2 separate regions of the Homo sapiens genome follow, and region 2 is linked to region 1. Evidence: promoter capture Hi-C in 16 types of primary human blood cells and fetal thymus (Javierre and others, 2016). All regions are on one chromosome and are shown on one strand. Each heading gives the region's core, a stretch centred on a gene start or on the middle of the fragment in contact. The rest is flanking DNA. Distances are from core to core; before and after follow the strand shown. Region 1 holds the start of LCA5 (lebercilin LCA5). Region 2 has its middle 5.7 kb from the start of TTK.

Region 1 (4,454 bases), core at 255-2,754:
AAGAGAAGGGTAGCATCTTTATTTAATGGGCTTCCATTGTGTCCTACAGAATTATAGTTCCACAATATGTGTAACGGAAGAGATGTGACTCACAAAAGAAGAAAAATCTCTTTTCCAAAGTCACAAACTACTTTTTGATATTTAAAATGATACTTTGTCAACTTAGAGAATCAAAACAAACTATTATTTCCTATAACTTATTTGGATAAACATACTAGCTAACATGGGAAATCACAAAGTGAAATATTTAAAATGGTAATATAGAATTTAAATGTGGAACAACTGGAAAAAAACATAGATTAAAATAACCATGCAAAAGAAAGAGGGAATGAGTAAAGAACTGGAAACATCGGTTTTACCATTCTAAAACACATATAGCCACTCCCTCTGCCAAAAACTAAATGATGACTTCTGATTGCAAAGATATCTCTAATGCAAGTTCTTAACGTGAAGATAAAGGAGGGGAATAAATATGTATGTGCCCAAGTATACTTTCCAAAGAACAAAGTGAACAAAAAAGGGGTTTATATCAGATGAACTGGACCAGGGCTCTTCACTGTTAAACACTATCCCACGGTCTATCTAACGTAAACATCACGTATCTGAGTACCGACTCCAACTCGAGTATGCCAAAAAGGCACTTTCTTTTTTCTTTTATTTCTAACCATCTTTACTCCTCTCATCCCATCCCTGAAGGATGTATAGAAGTATCACAGCCTGGACAAGTACGGCTTTCCACTCTAACCACAGTTTTAATAATAACACATCTATTATTATCCGAGAGCTACCAAAGCCTCCTTTTCCGTCTTGGCCCTTGGCCCTGCCCCTCCTCTCTAGTCTTGAGTCTCCACGGGCCTCCGGGGTTTTTGTTTTGTTTGTTTTAATAACAACCACTTCTCTAGATCCGCTTGCTCCCTTTCTTCTCTTCTCGGTCCCAGGAAGTAAATACCCTTTCCCAGCTCCTCTCCTCCTAACTTCCCAGTCCCCCCAGTGCCGGTCAACCTCCCTTCCTCGGGACCCTCTCAGAAGCCGAGCTCTTTACTCATTTTCCTAGGTCTTCCTTCTCCTCGCGGTCCCTACATCCTCCCCCATCCCTAATCCCTTCATCTTCCCTGCTTTAAGAACCACCCGCAGGCCCCCATCCACGAACGCCCCTTCACTAGCTACCAGACGCTTCAACCCAGCCTCACCTCGCACCTCCACCTCCCCCGCCGTCTCCACGCCCACTTCAAAGCCCACCTCCAACCCGCAGGCTCTTCAGCAGAGCCGATGCGGCGTCCCGCCTCCTTGCCTTCCCTCTTAGGACCAAACTCCCAGCTGGGGCCTCGGCGTCTGACCGCCAAAGAGCGGGTGCCTGGTTCCTGCGGAGGCTGCCGGGCGGGTGCCGAGGTTGCCGAGATGCGGGAGGTTTGAACACAAGGATGGGACAGAGGCGAGGATCGGGGCTCCTGGGTGGCAGCGGCGGTAACCTGGGCTCCAGGGTAACGGAGGCGGAGGCCTAGACTGCACTACGAAGAGACCGCAGCCAATCATGATGACTCTACCCGAGCTCCCATTGGCTTCTGTCTCCAGACGGCCCTTTTTATTGGCTTCAGTGGAACTGGAAGGCGGGACGGCGAGTGCGGGAGAAGGTCTCCATTGGCCGACCGCTCTAGCTGTAGCGGAGACCCCCAAGTAGGGAAATTGGGGCAAAACGCGGAGCGCTCCAGGCTCCTACGGGCTGTGCGGTGCCAGGGCTCGACTGCTGAGCGTCGTGGGCTCCGAGAGGGACGCGGGCGGAGGGCAAAGTGGGTTCATGATATGAATTGTAAAATTGGCGACTGCGTAATGTAAAACACTTAACAATTGCTTAGATTTCCTTTGGGAAATAACTTGCTTTTAAATTGTAAACAAATTACAAACAAACTGCTAGTGCTTCTGGATCTTCTTACCGAAATGGCTGATTCAGGAGGATGCGGGGTGAGTGCACTATTGTTCCTGCCTCGAGATCCTGGCTGTGAATCACCAACGAGCCGTGAGTTTGGCTTGAAAGTGATTTTTAGGTTTTGGAACGGGTTTGGGGTGGAATGGCATCTGAAATATTTGCACACAAGTTTTTTTTTTTTTTTTTTTTTTTTTTTTTTTTTTTTAAGGAACGTTTTGAGGAGCATGTCAGCCTATTGAGCGCTGATGTGTGACATATTTTCTCTTTTAGAAATGGCATTAATTGCGGGAGACAGGGAAGGTAAAAAAAAATCCTCTTTCGTGAGGGCTTTAAACTGCTCCGAGCCATCTGATTATCAAGGTGGTTTAACACTACTCTGGTGTTCTCACTATTGTTAATTTCTCACTGGCCTTTTTACCACCATTCTGTAGAGAATCTAATATTTGAAGGCAAATGCGTTTAATGAATCTTCTAACCATGAAGATTGGTAATTCCTGCTTCTCGCTCAACCTCGTTTTTCCACCTTTGCACTGTTTCAAAGCTTTCATTTTATCCTGTCAATACATTTTACTTCAAGTTACAGACTAACCCACCCAAACAATATTGTGATTAAATGTAATTTTCTGTATGCGAAATACATCTGTACAAGATGGCAGTCATCTGTTAGTGAAAATAAGATGAGTAATCCCTAAATTGCACGGAATTACTTTTCATCAATTCTTTAATCTGTCTCTGCTGACACTGTTAAAATAGCTCACTCGTTATTATGGACTCTGTTAGAATTAACATGTAAATGTATGGGTGGATTACTTATAAAGGAAGTTGCTAGGAAGAATCAGAAAACATACCGTATTTACGTGGACAAATGTCTGTCACAGGAGCGTCAGATCAGGATTGCTGAAGGAGAGCTGAGAATGAAACCACCATTTATTCAGCACTCAGAATGCTCCAGGCAGTGTAATCTCATTCCATCTTCATTCATGACTCCAGACAGGTATTGTTATTCATTGTTTATACTTGAGAAAGCAGATTCAGAGAAGTTAAAGTATCTACCACAAGGTACGAAAGTAGTAAGTAGTAATGCCAGAGTACAAGCCTAGGTCTGCTTCCAAATTTCGTGGTTTCGGATTTAGTGCCTTCATTGTGTTTCACCTACAGGTTAAGAAGTTGTTGGTAAGCAAGAAAATATTTAAGACGCTGGGAGAATCCAAAAAATTGTCTAGTTGTGTGTAACATAGTCTCAGGATTCTTACAGTGTGCAATTTTATTCACCCCCTCATATTCAAAATAACAGTATCAGTTTGACCTTGAAAAAAGACCAAAAAATGTATAAATTTACAGAAGTAAAAACTAGTTTATTGAATTACCATTTTAAAAGGTTACCCCAAAATATGAGAAAGCAGTTTTAAAAGTTTTATGACATTACATGGTTTTATATATTATTTTTGATAGGGCTAGAATTTTCTAAGATACCATTTGACATTTTATTTCAGTACCACACAGGATTCTGCTTTTCAGAAATAAAGGAAACAAAGTTATCAAAACCACATTTATATTTCTGCCACTTGAAATTATAGTTAACAGAAATCAGACTCTTGTTTTTAAAGATTTTGTTTATGAAACAAATTCTGCAATGGTCATTAAGCACTTTGGAGTTTTATTTTTAATATCCTGGGCTTCTTCCATTGATACTGCAATATCTCCAGATTTGCTACATTGCTAACTGAATGTTCATTTTCTGTAGGACTTTGATTGGCTTCTTTATTGCCATATGGCAATGATGTAGATGTTATAATGTAACTAAAATATTCCTACAAATGCTTACTAGTAGGATTATTCTCATTTTCCTTTGGGGAAACTAGTGTCGAGTTTGAATGGTTGGTTAGAAGTTTCAAAAAAGTAATAGGTAGATAAATAGACTCTCTAACTGTAGACAGAGAAATTACAATGACCATAATTTGTAAAGTGGGGGGACATACTATATATAGTATCTTGGAAAGCACATAAGTATAATTATCCTTAGCTAAAGTTCAGTCATCTATTTCATACCATTCTACAAAAGAAGAAAAGCAGTGTCACAATTTTATATAATTTACAGAAATGTGATACATAACAAAAATTCAAAAATTTTTTCTCTAACTTCTTGATCTCATGTTGCTTGGAAATTTTAAATTTATTAATAGATTCTAGGTAAATAGTTGGTTTTAGCATATAACACTAAATTTGAAACAGTATCTAATATGCTGCATGTTTAAGAGAAATCGAATGGATTGGTTGAGTTGGGTGTAAAGAACAGTATAATTGGCCGGGTGCTGTGGCTCATGCCTGTAATCCCAGCACTTTGGGAGGCCAAGGTGGGTGGATCACGAGGTCAGGAGATCAAGACCATCCTGGCTAACACAGTAAAACCCTGTCTCTAATAAAAATACAAAAAAATGAGCTGGGCGTGGTGGCGGGTGCCTGTAGTCCCAGCTACTCGGGAGGCTGAGGCAGGAGAATGGCATGAACCCGGGAGGCGGAGGTTGCAGTG
Region 2 (4,705 bases), core at 1,105-3,604, 460 kb after region 1:
ATTCATTTTGGACCAATTACATTTCAAGGGCTCAAGAGCTACATGTGGCTAGTTACCATGATAGAGAATGGAGGTTTATAGAGTTCACCTTTAACTTATCACAAGTAATATACCAATTTATGTAGAGTAGAAAGAAACCTTAAATAATATTCTTTCATTTTCCTCCTCCCAGCACTGGTGTGAGTGTTGTCATGTTTTACTTCTCTATATGTTATAAACCTGACAGTACATTGTTATCATCTTTTGCTTTAGTTATCTCTTAAAGAGATTTCAAAAATAAGAAAAATATCTTTTTACATATCCACATATTTACCATTTCCAGTATTCTTTATTCTTTTATGTAGATTCAGAATTTTTCTGCCTGAAGGCTTCCTTTAATAATTTTTGTGGTGCCATTCTACTGGTGATGAATTATTTCAGCTTTTGTATGTCTGAAAAAAAATCTTTATTTTCCCTTCATAATGAACAATATTTTTGCTGGAAATAACAATTCTAGGTTTATAGAATTATTTTTTCTTTTTCTTTCAGCATTTTAACCCTTTTCCTGTTTGCCCCAAGAATACATGCCTGTAGCTGCTGTGTTTACCCTGAGATAAATTTGCCACAAAATATCTCACTTTTATTATTTTTGCATCATTCTAGTACATTGACTTTGGAAACAAAGACATCATTCTACTTACAACATTCTGGGCCAGGTGAGGTGGCTCACACCTGTAATCCCAATACTTTGGGAGGCTAAGGCAGGCAGATCACTTGAGGTCAGGAGTTCGAGAACAGCCTAAAAATACAAAATTAGCCAGGCATGGTGGCACACACCTGTAATCCCAACTACTTGAGAGGCTGAGGCAGGAGAATTGTTTGAACCTGGGAGGCAGATATTGCAGTGAGCCGAGATCGCACCACTGCACTCCAGCTTGGGCAACAGAGAAAGACCCTGTCTCAAAAAAATAAAAAATAAATAAAATAATAACAGTATTACAATATTCTGTTTTTAGTACTGGTGTTTTGTATTTCCATTTACAAAACATAGTAATTCTCAATTGCTGAAAATGTCAAATCCTATAAAACACAGCATTTCTACGTGTGATGTTAACATCATTCTCAAACAGTTGTTGGCTGAAGATTGATTTGATGAATCCAATTTTTTCAAAACTGACAATACTGATGATTCAGACAATTCTGATGTTAGTTACGTTTAGAAATAACTCCAAGAGCAGTTTTTAGATTTTATTTTCACATTGAAAATCAGTCAGATTTGCTTCAGCCTCAAAAAGCATGTTTATGTAAAATTAAATGAGTGATGGCAGGCAACTGTAGTTTTTTTTCCTAAATGGGAAAAGGGTTAAAGATGTCACTCCATTGTTGCCCAGCTTACATTGTTTCTGGCAAGAAGTCTACTGTTCTTATGATTGTTCATCTATATCTAATTTGTACTTTTCCTCTGGTTGCTTTTAATATTTTCTCTTTATCATTAGTTTTGTCCAATGTAATAATGTGCACAGGTGTTGTTTTCATGAAGTTTTTTGTGTTTAGAATCTGTTGAACTTCTTCAATTTGTTTGTTTATGGTTTTCAACATATTTAAACAAATTTTGGCCATTTTTTCTTCAAATATATTCTTCAATTCTCCCTTCTTTCTTGTGAAAACTCCAATCACATGTACATTATGCCACATTGTTTTTCCACAACTCACTGAAGTTCTTTGTATTTTTGTTTCTTTGCTTCTCTGTGCCTTATTTTGCATAGTTTATTATTGATATGTTTTCAAGTTTAGGATATTTTGTTTTCCAGACTGTAATCTGCTATTAATCCTATCCAATATAATTTTTATTGCAGGTATTGCATTTTTCATCTCTATACATTTGTTTTTGGTCTTCTCATATATTCCATATTTCTTTTTAACATGTTTACACTTTCCTCTACTTTCTGGAACATATGGAATACAGTTATAATTACTGTTTGTCTATTAGTGGGTAATCTGTGCCACTTCTGCATCTGTTTTAATTGACTGATTTCCACCCCCACTTCCTCATTTAGATTTACATTTTCCTGCTTTAAGTGCCTAGTAATTTTTTAATTAGATGCCAGACATTGTAAATTTGACCCAGTTGGATTTTCTCATATTTCTATAAATACTGATCCTTTTAAGGTTTGCTCTTAAGCTTTTATAGACTGGGCCATTGCATGCTGTAGGGCTAATTTTGCTCCAGTTCTAAGGCAATATCATGAGTCTTCTACTTGTTGCTTTGTGAACAAAAACTATTTCTTGTCCTTTATGAGCTCTTGACATTATTCCCTTTTATTCTTTCCCCTGGTTGTTATCTTCCTCTGGTCTTGTGATAGTTTCCACATACACTTGCACTTACCAATACAGAGCTGGAGACTCAAGGACATTCTCTGCAGATTTCCAGAATTCTCTCTCTGTTCTGCTCTTTTTCTCTGGTACGCTGTCCTGTGAACTTCACCTGCCTTGGCCATTCCAGACTATGAACTCCATCTTCCTAACTTTAGAATACCAGGCAATGCCTGGGTTCTCCCTTTGTACACTGAAGCTTGGAAACTCTCACCAGTAAGTAATCTGGAGGCAACATTATGACTCACTTGTTTGTTTCACTATTCTTAAGGATCACTGTACTGTATTGCCTGATGTCTGATGCTTGAAAACCATTATTTCATTTATTTTGTATAGTTTTTGTTGTTACTGTTGTTTCAGAGAATAAATCTGAACCATGTTTCTTCATCTTGGCTAGACTCTAACTGTGTATTTGATAATTTTATTATTTTTAGAAATCTAAATGTACAGACTTACATTTATCTCTATAAATTGCATATTATCAACTTTGTCCTTTTAAAGTATCTTCTAATTTTGTCTTTTTTTAATTCATATGAAAAGTTAAGCATTATTTTTATATGTTTGTGACACAGATAAGATATGTAGTTTAGAATAAAACCACAGACAGAGTTCTGAGACCTTCTACTAGGGATCAACCTGAAGTTCTCAAACTATTAACAAGTGATCTTGGAGAAAAATGATCCAGAGTTGCAGAAATACTTCACATTAACCATATGGGAATTACTTGCTCCTTTCTTCCACAAAAGCAGTAAGAGAGCCTTTATCATTTTATTTGCCAAAGTTAAGATAGTCTGTATTTATGGCCTTCCCTTTTCTAAATATACAAACAATCAAAATCAGAACTTAGTATATTCTATATAGCCTGCTCTTAATGCATTTACATTGGCTTCTAGAGATCTTTGCTTCCAAACAGTTCGGTAATTGATCCCAGAAGGGGTCTAAAATTCTAAAATCTACATTGAGATTATAGAGATTAATAGCTTCCAAATTCTACCTTTTCCAAAAAGGTAACACTTGTCCATCCATTTCTGGCTTTCTATCATTGCTTCTACTTATTATGACTTTTCAGAGATTGCCAGCAATGTTTCTGGGATTATATTTGCACGTTTTTTTTCAATATCCTGCTTATTTTCTTCAGGATATTGTGGTATATTAACCAACTACGTGAGGCTCTCTCTATATAGCAGAGACTGAAAATGTATGGAGATATATATATATATATATATATATATTTTTTTTTTTTTTTTTTTTGAGACAGAGTTTCGCCCTTATTGCCCAGGCTGGAGTGCAATGGCGAGATCTTGGCTCACCACAACCTCTGCCTCCCAGTTTCAAGTGATTCTCCTGCCTCAGCCTTCCGTGTAGCTGGGATTACAGGCATGCACCAGCACGCCTGGCTAATTTTGTATTTTTAGTAGAGACGGGGTTTCTCCATGTTGGTCAGGCTGGTCTCGAACTCCTGACCTCAGGTGATCTGCCCCGCCTCAGCCTCCCAAAGTGCTAGGATTACAGGCATGAGCCACTGCACCCAACCTGGATACATTTAAAAAAAAATTATGGCCAGGTGTGATGGTAATCACAGACCATCACAATGCTTCCCTGCACTTTGGGAGGCCGAGGCAGGTGCATTGCTTGAGCTCAGGAGTTTGAGACCAGCCTGGGCAACATGGCAAAACCCTGTCTCTACAAAAAATACAACAATTAGTCGGGTGTTGTGGCATGAACCTGTAGTACTAGTTACTTGGGAGTCTCAGGTGGAAGGATGGCTTGAGCTCAGGAGGTAGAAGTTGCAGTGAACCAAGATCACACCACTGCACTCCAGCCTGGGTGACAAAGCCAGAGCCTATCTCTCTCTCTCACACACACACACACACACACATACATACACACACACTTCATTTGTGTCAGAGAGTTTGGATGGAATTTAAATGTCTTTCTTATATAGCCTGTCCTGTATTTATTTTTAAGATTGTCAGTCTGACTGCTATTCTTCATATTGGAGAAAAAAGAAAAATAGGAACTGAGAATCCTACTTTTCTTCTGCTGTTTGTTAGCATAGTTTATTGCCTGCATGATTAAATAATACCTGATGTCCAAGTAGTGGTCCTAACTCGTCACTGCTGTTTTCCTTTGTAGAACATAATCTAAGCTGTCATTGCTGTTTTTCTTTGTGATCTATGAGGTACGTTGGTACCTCTCCTTGGCATTATTTTCTTTTCTTTTGGGTATGGCTTGGTCCATTCTGTGATAGTTAGCTTTCCTGACAGTATTCATACAGGTCTCAACATTCTTATGGGCTCACGTCACTCCTAAATGCACTAAAATCAGCATACACTAGTAATGTTTTATCCAG

The links. Contacts are between HindIII fragments. The CHiCAGO score rates a contact against its expected background, and 5 or more counts as called.
Region 2: a contact is called between a fragment that was not itself captured here and the fragment with the promoter of LCA5 in region 1, in 1 of 17 cell types (total B cells). The highest score is 6.0, in total B cells.

What each region holds. Positions count from the first base shown.
Region 1 is chr6:79,535,926-79,540,379 of GRCh38, forward strand. It overlaps LCA5 (lebercilin LCA5), which reads right to left and starts at 1,505. Exons shown (of 8, transcript NM_001122769.3): 1 at 1,240-1,505. It also overlaps a transcript of SH3BGRL2 not described here. RefSeq lists enhancers at 1,401-1,974, 1,969-2,018, 2,549-3,122. The HindIII fragment of the contact is 3,782 bases long and covers 1-2,463 here.
Region 2 is chr6:79,996,553-80,001,257 of GRCh38, forward strand. No RefSeq gene overlaps it. Among named protein-coding and RNA genes, the nearest start is that of TTK, 5.7 kb to the right of the region's middle. The HindIII fragment of the contact is 390 bases long and covers 2,160-2,549 here.